2 separate regions of the Homo sapiens genome follow, and region 2 is linked to region 1. Evidence: promoter capture Hi-C in 16 types of primary human blood cells and fetal thymus (Javierre and others, 2016). All regions are on one chromosome and are shown on one strand. Each heading gives the region's core, a stretch centred on a gene start or on the middle of the fragment in contact. The rest is flanking DNA. Distances are from core to core; before and after follow the strand shown. Region 1 holds the start of ZNF358 (zinc finger protein 358). Region 2 overlaps LOC124904628 (a long non-coding RNA gene).

What was found. Contacts are between HindIII fragments. The CHiCAGO score rates a contact against its expected background, and 5 or more counts as called.
Region 2: a fragment that was not itself captured here is called in contact with the fragment with the promoter of ZNF358 in region 1 in 1 of 17 cell types (M1 macrophages); the score reaches 5.7 in M1 macrophages.

What each region holds. Positions count from the first base shown.
Region 1 is chr19:7,512,754-7,517,980 of GRCh38, forward strand. It overlaps ZNF358 (zinc finger protein 358), which reads left to right and starts at 3,350. Exons shown (of 2, transcript NM_018083.5): 1 at 3,350-3,496. LOC105372261 (a long non-coding RNA gene) reads right to left here. Exons shown (of 3, transcript XR_936294.3): 3 at 1,600-1,722. RefSeq lists a silencer at 3,182-3,431. The HindIII fragment of the contact is 10,458 bases long and covers 497-5,227 here.
Region 2 is chr19:7,802,903-7,808,140 of GRCh38, forward strand. All of the region lies in intron 1 of LOC124904628 (a long non-coding RNA gene), which reads left to right. Among named protein-coding and RNA genes, the nearest start is that of EVI5L, 25 kb to the right of the region's middle. The HindIII fragment of the contact is 161 bases long and covers 3,427-3,587 here.

The sequences.
Region 1 (5,227 bases), core at 2,100-4,599:
CCAGTCTTATCTTCTACCTCATCATCTGCCTCGTCTTTTAGCCTGGGGCGGAAAATTCAGCTCTGAGGTTCTCACAAGATGAAGCAGATGATTCTCTGCTTTGAGAAGAAACACATTCCAGAAACTTGTGTCTTTCTTGCAAGACTTTGCTGAAGATTGCATGAAAGCTGCCCCAGGCCAGGCATGGTAGCTCACACCTGTAGTCCCAGCAAGTTGGGAGGATCGCTGAAGTCAGGAGTTTGAGACCAGCCAGGGCAACATAGTGAGGTTCCATCTCTACAAATAAAATAGTAATAATAGCCAGGCATGGTGGCTGTAGTCCCACCTACTCAGGAGGCTGAGTCCCCAGGTACTCATCTGTAGTCCCAGCTACTCAAGAGGTTGAGGTGGGAGGTTGGCTTGAACCCAGGAGTTCAAGGCTGCAGTGAGCTATGATTGTGCCACTGCACTCCAGCCTGGGTGACACAATGAGACCCTGTCTCTAAAAGAGAAAGAAAGCTTCCCCATATTCCAATATTCTGGTCCTTAGGAGACACATGGTTAGAGTTCCATGAAAAAATCAGTAACTATTTATTTATTTATTTATTTATTATTCATTTATTTTTGAGATGGAGTCTCGCTCTGTTGCCCAGGCTGGAGTATAGTGTGGCACGATCTCGGCTCACTGCAATCTCCACCTCCCGGGTTCAAGTGATTCTCCTGCCTCAGCCTCCCAAGTGGCTAGGATTACAGGTGCCCTCCACCATGCCCGGCTACTTTTTGTATTTTTAGTAGAAATGGGGTTTCACCATGTTGGCCAGGATGGTCTCAAACTCCTGACCTCAGTGAGCCGCCCATCTCAGCCTCCCAAAGTGCTGGGATTACAAGTGTCAGCCACCGCGCCTGGCCAGGCAACAATTTAATCCGCTGGTTTTCTTCCACATAACTCTAGTTTTCTGGGGGAAAGCTCTTTTACAAAGCCCCGTATACATCTAGACAGGTCGTGCATTGCATAACTTAAGGTGCCCTATTCACTTTATAGTCCATGTATGTGGCAACCCTGGCTCTCTATCCCATCTTTCTTTAGTTTGTTCCACATTTTAGGGTTTTTTTTAAAAGATTTTTTTTATTACTCTTTCCTTTCCAGGTAATAATTCCTAAATTAGTCAAGACTGTCACGGATGCAAAGAACAGACATCCACTAAAACCAGCTCAAACACCCAGAACATTTGTTGGTTTGTGGTACAGGAAAGAATGAGTTCTGTGGCTTCAGGTACGGCTATATCCAGGAGCTCAACAAATATAGCCAGAGCTATCTCTCTGACTCTTACTTGTACATCTTGGTGCATATTGTCCTCAGTCTGCAGACCGTTCTTTTGAACAACTGGGGAAAGTGGCTGCAGGCAGAATGAGCCCCCTGTGGCTCATAACCCCAGAAGTAGAGTGAGAACCTCCAATGTCACCTTCTCAACCCATACCTAATTATTGTGGCCAGGGGATAGGGGCCCTTTGATTAGAGTCCAGCTCACGTGGGACTGGGAAGGGGTGTTAGACACATGTGCATCTGGAGTAGTGGAGGGGACCCCACAAAGGAAAAGAAAGTACTGTTAGATTCTGAGCCAAAGAAACAACAGATGTCATCACATGTATTTGTAATGGGATCATCCAGGAAGTGTCAGGATAAGGAACCAGGGGCATAATCCAATTGAAGTTATCTCCAATCTCTCAGATCTGCTGTGGGCTCTGCGGAAAGATGGAAAGCAGGTCTCAGGCTGAGTCTAACACACATCTAGAAGGTTCAGGAAGGAAGAAGGAACCATAGGGTGTCTCTATAAGGAGGACATGGGGACAGAGGAGTATCTTATAGAATTTGGGCTTGTACTTGGTGGTTTGCATTTTTTGTTTTGTTTTTGTTTTTGAGACGGAGTCTCGCTCTGTTGCCCAGGCTGGAGTGCAGTGGTGCAATCTCGGCTCACTGCAACCTCCACCTCCTGGGTTCAAGCAATTCTCCTGCCTCAGCCTCCCGAGTAGCTGGGATTACAGGTGCCTGCCACCACGCCTGGCTAATCTTTGTATTTTTAGTAGAGACAGGATTTCACCATGCTGGCCAGGCTGGTCTCAAACTCCTGACCTCAAGATCCACCCGCCTTGGCCTCCCAAAGTGCTGGGATTACAGGCATGAGCTACCGCACCCAGCCTATACTGGGTGGTTTTACAGAGAATTACTAGGGTGGTATTGTCGGGAACCTGGGAGCGCTTTGCTGACTAGGTATTTCAGTGATTTTTGTCTCAGAGGTGGGAGGATGGCAGTTGGGTTGGAATTGTCGTCGGTAAGAAGTGGCAGTCATTTGTGTTCACTTGGAGAGGGGGATGAGAACTCATTTTTGTGGTTGCACAGGGCCCATGTCTCTATCTTGGTTCAGACATGGTCACAGAGTGGCCTTGCCTCATCATTGTTTATATTCTGTGACCATTGTTTATATTTAGTGGAGAACATCGCGGCCCAGCCATCAGGAGCTGATTTCCACTCTCTCTCCTGGCTGGCAGCGGGGATCTGTGTCTCCAAGGAAAGTTTGCCCCGAGCCCTTCCCGGCCCGGCGTAGGGTTCTCCGGAAACCATCACTCACATCTAGCACTTGGAGGCCTCCAGGGACAGCGGTGACCCACCATCTGGGTAGGAGGCTGAAAACACTAGAGGAGGAATATCCCAAATCTGTGCCTTGGCGGGTGTTACCCAGAAAGGGTGACGGGTTTCACCATGCAAAAAGGAAAAATTGGAGGAAGGCCAGGTTAAGCAAAAATAGACATGTTTTTAGATTGCAGAGCTGAGAGGCTTGGCTGTGCCTATGTGCGCTGCAAGTCTCCAAGAACAACATGTGTAGAGTTTTACGAACAAAGATAGAGTCAGAGACATGGGCAGGAGGCAGAGACAGAGAGAGAGAGACAGACAGACACAGAGAGAGATAGAGGCAGAGAAAGCAACAGAGGCAAAGAGATTGGAACACAGAGAAAGAGATGGGGACAGAGACACAGAGAAAGGAACAGAGATGGGAAGACAGGGACAGAGACAGAGAATGAACAGAGATAGAGAGATAGGGACGGAGAGAGACAGAGAGAGGGACAGGGATGGAGAGAAAGAGATAGGGCCAGGGCCACAGAGGGACTGAGACAGGCCCAGGAGGAGACTAGGGATGGGGCCAGGGCTGCGTGCGGGCGGGGCACGGTGCAGACAAAGGCGCGGCCGCGCGGTCGGGGTGGCCTGGCCGGGGACAAAGGCCTGCCCGGGGGGCGGGGGCAGCGATGGCGACGGCCGCGGCGGGCGCGGGCGAACTACAAGTCCCAGCAGCTCCCGCTGCGGCCCTCGGCCGGCCCCTCTCGCTCCCCGGGAGCGCCTGGCGGGGCCGCTGGGCCGAGGGGGCCGCCGGCGGGGCTGGCGGGCGGGGGGCTTCCTGCGGGCCCGGGGGGAGCCGGCGGCCGGCGCGGGCGCGGCGGGCCGGGCAGGGGCGAGGGGCGCCGGGTGAGTGTCCCTGCGAGCGGGCTGGGGCCGGGGCGGGGGGCTGGGTGGGGGGCGGGCGGGCGGGGGAGCTCCAGGCGCGGGGCGCAGCCCGGGGCGACCTCTAATCGTCCCCCGCCCTGCGCGCCGCCGGCCCTGGCCCAGGCGAGCGGGGGTCGCGGGAGCGATGGGGAGGGGACTCTGCGGCCAGCTCCGGCCTAGCGCACCCATCCCGCCGCTGGGGCCCGGGGGGAAAGGGCCAGGAGGTTGGGAGCCTTCAATCGGGCGGGGTGGGGGGCGCCCGCCAGCTCTGGGGTCTGGAGCTCAGGACGCCCCCTCCCTAGGAGGCGATCCAGGACCCCCTCCCCTCCTGATTCGAGGTATTGTTCCCACCTCCCGCCTGGGGTCTGGAGTTCAGGAGGCCCTGTCCTCAAAAGGGGGACCTAGGGGTTCCCTCTTCCCCCAGGACCCTAGGAAGGGTCCCAGCGATTGTTCCCTTGCCCCTCCAGTCTTGGGGTCTGCAGTTCTGGAAGCTCCTTTCCCTGGAGGTGATCCAGGGGTCCACCTGCCCTCACCCCTGGGAACTCAGGAAAGACTTAAGTGATTTCTCCTCCCACCTTCCAGTTAAGAGATGGGAATTCAGGGGGCTCCTTCCCCTGGAGGCAATCTAAGGGTTCCTCTGCCCCTGATGCAGGAGGGGTCCCAGGTCTTGTTTCCCCCACTCTCCAACTATGGGGTCTGGGTTGAGGACCGCCGTCCAGGAACTCGGCTCTGTTTGCCTGCACACTCCCAGCTATGGGGTTGTGGCTCAGTGTATTCCTTTCCCCAGAAGGGGAGCCACAGGTCCCCCCACAGCTTCTCCCAGGAGCAGATCATTCATTGTTGACACCTCAACACCCAGCCATGGGGTGGGGAGCTCAAGGCATCCTCCCGGCAGGTCATCCTGGGCTCCCATTGCTCCCCAGAAGTGGTTCCAGCTTTTGTCCCTCTACCTCCCAGTCTGCCCCTAGCCACAAGCTGGCAATTCAGTTCAGGATCCTTCCTGCAGGAAGGGCTACAAGTGTGCTGACACTACCCGCCATGTCCCAGCCATGGGAGGAGATGACTCAGGCGTTCCCCCATTAACTTCAGAGGGTCCCCAGGTATTATTTTTGCCTATCCTCCAGCTAGAAGTTAAAATGCAGGACCTTCTAGCCAATAGGGAAAACAGGTATACTGGCCGGGCATGGTGGCTCATGCCTGTAATCACCATACTTTGGGAGGCTGAGGTGGGAGGATCATTTGAGCCCAGGAGTTTGAGTCCAGCCTGGGCAACATACCAAGACCCCATCTCAAACATAAATAAATAAATAAAACAGGTATACTAACAACTGTCCCCACCATCCTGCCTATGGGGTTCATGAGTCTCCCTACCCATCCCTCCTCACCAGGAGGGGTCCCAAATATCACTCTACCATGCTCACTATCTGGCTGTAGGAAAGGGCATTTCCGATCTGTCTAAGAGAGAGGATTTGACACTGACTCCCACCTGGAGCTGTGAGCTCTGGAATTCAGGTTTTCTTTTCCCCAGAGGGCAAGCCAGAGTCTTCTTGTCTTTCCCCAGTGACTTGGGAGGGATACCTGATGTTATTTGTTCCATATTCTTATCCCCCAGACATGGGTTCTAGAGCTCAGAATGCTGCTGCTGGAGGGGGGCCTCCCTACCAGAACTCGCCCCCTAAATTAATCTGCCGCCTCCAAGTATGGGACAAGAAT
Region 2 (5,238 bases), core at 2,257-4,756, 290 kb after region 1:
TAGTTTTACTTTTAGTTCTTTAAGGAATCTCCACGCTGTTTTCCATAGTGGTTGTACTAGTTTACATTCCCACCAGCAGTGTAAAAGTGTTCCCTGTTTGCCACATCCACACCAACATCTATTATTTTTTGAGTCTTTGATTATGGCCATTCTTGCAGGAGTAAGGTGGTATCACATTGTGGTTTTGATTTGCATCTCCCTGATCATTAGTGATGTTGAGCATTTTTCCATATGTTTGTTGGCCATTAAGACACTTCTATTACTTGGAAAATTCCAAGAGTTTAGACGCCCCCTGCCAGGAACCAGAGGTAGTGACTAGACAGATTATTTAGCACACAATATCTTTCTATCTTAAAATCGCAATCATATCTGCAAAGTCTCTTTTTGCCATATAAGGTGACATTCATAGGATCCAGGGATTAGGACTTGGATATCTTTTTTTTTTTTTTTTTTGAGAAGGAGTTTCACTCTTGTTGCCCAGGTTGGAGTGCAATGGCATGATCTCAACTCACTGCAACCTCCACCTCCCAGGTTCAAGTGATTCTCCTGTCTCAGCCTCCTGAGTAGCTGGGATTACAGACATGCACCACCACACCTGGCTAACTTTGTATTTTTAGTAGAGACAGAGTTTCACCATCTTGGTCAGGCCGGTCTCGAACTCCCGACCTCAGGTGATCCGCCCGCCTCAGCCTCCCAAACTGCTGGGATTACACATGTGAGCCACCATGCCTGGCCAGGACTTGGATATCTTTGCAGGCCATCATGCATCCTAGCTCAAAGAGTAACTAGCTGAGAAAGACTCCCAGGTGGGGGATGGAAGTCGAAATGCGTACCTGGTGGCCTAACTGCTTGCTGAGCTGGGTTAAGTGGCAATTTGGAAGATCCACAGACAGATCTAGTCTAACTTACTGATGATCAAGTGGAGATCTCTGACTCACTGAACAGCAACAGAGACGAACTGACAGGATTGACTTCCAGGCTGACTGACAACCTCAACGGCAGAGCCTCTTCCAGGTTGTAGTGACAAATGTACAATGGAAGCACAGGTGGACAGGAGAAGCCCAGGAGTCTCTTCCTGGGGGTGGAGCTGAGTAAGTACCGGCTGTGGCTGGGGCAGAAGGAAGAGGCCCCCAGGTTAAGCTGGAACTTCCCCAGGATCCTGTCCATGGCTCACGCATGCCCTCGAGCCCCTGGTACTCCAGGCTTAGATGCTGGGGCAGCAGGGCTGGAGGGAACCTCAGGGCAGGAGCCCAGAGAGCCAAATAACTGGATTCAAAGGGTCCATCCTCCCTTCACCATTGGCCTCAGGCATACCTGATCAATGCACAGGTCCCAGCTTGCAGTCTCCTGGCTCTAACTGGCTGGTGTTAGAGCAGATCCATAAAGACCCCAAATAAGAGAGTCAGGACCAAATTGTCCTCCCTGGCCCTTGGCCCCAGCCCACCCCCCTGCCCCACTCCCCAACACACAAGAGTCAACCTTCCAGGGAAGAAAGGAATCCCTGGAGCCTATCCCTCATCCTAGAACAGATATTCAGTCAGCTTTTATGGTCCTGGAATATTGGTCTTGCTAGAAAGACTATTCTAAATGCCAACAGCTGGCCGAGTGTGATGGCTCATGCCTGTAATCCCAACACTTTGGAAAGCTAAAGTCAGTGGATCACTTGAGCCCAGGGGCTCAAGCTCAGCCTGGGCAACATAGTGAGACCCTGTCACTATAAAAATAGTTTTTTTTGAGGTGGAGTCTCGCTCTGTCGCCCAGGCTGGAGTGCAATGGCGTGATCTCGGCTTACTGCAACCTCTGCCTCCTGGGTTCAAGCGATTCTCCTGCCTCAGCCTCTTGAGTAGCTGGGATTACAGGCACACCCCACCACACCTGGCTAATTTTTGTATTTTTAGTAGAGACAGGGTTTCACCATGTTGGTCAGGCTGGTTTCGAACTCCTGACCTCAGGTGATCCACCTGTCTCAGCCTCCCAAAGTGCTGGGATTACAGGCATGAGCCACTGTGCCAGGCCTGTTAAATGACTTTTCTAAACTACTTCTGTAAAGTCTATATTCTCTGTCATGGCTACTGAAGTCTTTGCTCAGTTAGCTTCATGGTTAGCTAGTGGTTGGACAGAGATTTCCTTGAATGTCTGGAATCGGAAGTCTGCCAGTCTTTGCCAGGGAGCTCTGTGTACTTATTAGGGACACACCTTCAACATTCACCCAGGAAATTTACAACTGTGCTTTAGCTCTCACTTCCTGCTTACACAGAGCCTCGAAGTCGGCCAGCGGTGTGAGCTTAGGGCTGTCTCAGGTCTTTCCTAAGCATGTGGCCTTCCATATCCCCAGAAATATGTCAGAATTTTTCAAAAGTCCCTCCGAACATCTAATGTCTTCATTTTTCCTTCTAAGATTTTTTTTTTTTTTTTTTTTGAGACGGAGTCTCGCTCTGTGGCTCAGGCTGGAGTGCAGTGGCGCGATCTCGGCTCACTGCCAGCTCCGCCTCCTGGGTTCACACCATTCTCCTGGCTTGGACTACAGGCGCCCGCCACCACACCCGGCTAATTTTTTGTATTTTCAGTAGAGACGGGGTTTCACCGTGTTAGCCAGGATGGTCTCGATCTCCTGACCTCAAGTGATCCTCCCGCCTCGACCTCCCAAAGTGCTGGGATTACAGGCGTGAACCACCGCGCCTGGCGCTTTTCCTTCTAAGATTTTTAGTTAGGCTATTATTTCCCCAACTGTTAAGTATTGCCACAGGCAGCTGCAATGTTAAAACATTTAACAAATAGCCCCTGGGGAGAAATGTTTAGCATCCGGCAAGTTCAAGTGAGGTCAGGTCTTTCAGAGCAGGGTCTTCCAGAGTACCAATAAATAGGTCAATAAATGACTCTTCTTGGCTGGGTGCGGCGGCTCACGCTTGTAATCCCGGCACTTTGGGAGGCCGAGGTGGGTGGATCACTTGAGGTAAGCAGTTTGAGACTAGCCTGGTCAACATGGTGAAACCCTGTCCCTGCTGAAAACACAAAAATGAGTCAGGCATGGTGGCGGGCACCTGTAATCGCAGCTACTCCGGAGGCTGAGGCAGGAGAATCGCTTGAACCCAGGAGAAGGAGGTTGCAGTGAGCCGAGATCACGCCACTGCACTCCAGCCTGGGCGACAGAGCGAGACTCTGTCTCAAACACACACACACACACACACACACACACACACACACACACACACACACACCTCTTCTTGAATGATCCTGAATGAGGTTTTGAAGGAGCCGCACCTCTGTTCTTTTCCGTATGGTATCAAGATTGTGGGCTGTTATTTTTCAAGGCTACCCTCTGAGCTGGAGAGCCAGGAATAAGACTAGAGTGAGTTAAAATTCTACAGAGCTTGCTGTTTTTTTATGTGTTTTTTTTTTTAATTAAATGCTCTGCAAATTACTGTAAGCTTTTGGTTAATTTCCAGAGTTGTGAAAATGTTGATTCTGTCAAATTTTGCCAGTTTTTTTCATTGCTTTTGTAGAAAGGCAAATTTTACTCTGCCATTTTGCTGACGTTCTTTTTTTTCCCCTTCGATGCTTAAATTATCTTTAATTTGGCCAGTGAAAGCTTTTCTCTCTGGCTTCTGGGTCCTTTTGACATATTCCTATTGGTTTTTTGCTGATCGTTTTTTCTTCCTTCCTGGCCTAACTAGATGTTCTAGGCTTTTGTCCCCCCCAACCCTGCCTCAGCCTCCCAAGTAACTAGGACTACAGGAGCACGCCACCACGCCTGGCTAATTTTTAAATTTTTTGTAGAAATGGGTCTTGCTATGTTGCCCAGGCTGCTCTCATTTTTCCAAAAAGCCCTGGGCTAGGTGGAGATTGGCAGTTAGAAATGATCTGGGTGTTAAGTGTGCCCATTGTTACTGGGGTATGTGGCTCCCAGGTCCTCTTAGTAGATAAATGGGAACACACACACACACACACACACACACACACACACACAAACTTATTTCTATATTTATCTTTATATTTTGAAAACCATGAATTCACCTCAGTACCTCCAATTCAATAGGGTTTATTCTTGTTTTTTTTTGTATCTTTTCTTTTTTTTTTTTCTTGAGACCGAGTCTCGCTTTGTCACCTGGGCTGGAGTGCAGTGGCGCAATCTTTGGCAGTCTCAGCTCACTGCAGCCTCAACCTGCTGGGCTTGAGGGATTCTCCTGCCTCAGGCTCCTGAGCAGCTGGGACCACAGGCTCACGGCACCACACCCAGCTAATTTTTTGTCTGTAAAGACAGGGTCTCACTATGTTTCCTGGGCTGGTCTGGAACTCCTGGACTCAAGCGATCCTCCCACCTTGGCCTCCCAACGTGCTGGGATTACAGTGGCCGGGTGCAGCGGCTCACGCCTGTAATCCCAGCACATTGGGAGGCCGAGGCAGGTGGATCACCCGAGGTCAGGAGTTCGAGACCAGCCTGGCCAACATGGCAAAATCCCATCTCTACTAAAAATACAAAAATTAGCCGGGCTTGGTGGCGGGAGCCCGTAATCCCAGCTACTTGGGAGCCTGAGGCAGCAGAATCGCTTGAACCTGGGAGGTGGAGTTTGCAGTGAGCCGAGATCTTGCCACTGCACCCAGCCTGGGTGACAGAGCAAGACTCTGTCTCAAAACAAAACAAACAGAAAAACAAAGTGCTGGGATCACAGGCATAAGCCACCACACCTGGCCTCTGCATCTCATGAGCATTTATTTTGTGCTATGTGTTTTTTGGATATGACCTCAAAGAATCCGGTAACACAGCCGCCCTCATTCTCATTTTACCTATGAGCATAGTGGCTCAGAGATGAGTCACCTGCCCACAGCCCATCAGCTGATAAACACTGGAGTTGGGTTTGAAACTGTGAAAGCAATGAGGACCACATCATTTTCACTTCCCTTCGTGGCCCCAACTCAAACCAACCCAAAACCCAAGAAAGAAGATGTGGAGATTGTGTTGCCTTTCATAACTGGGAAGCGCGGGTGAGTGGAGGGGACCAGATTCAGGATCTGCTTTTCTTTCTTTCTTTTTTTTTTTTTTTTTTTTTGAGACGGAGTCTTGCTCTATCGCCCAGTGGAGTGCAGTAGCGCGATCTCGGCTCACTGCAACCTCCACCTCCCGGGTTCACACCATTCTCCTGCCTCAGCCTCCCGAGTAGCTGGGGCTACAGGTGCCTGCCACCACGCCCGGCTGATTTTAGCATCTGCCTTTCTTTATCTGTCTATGATCTGTTTGCT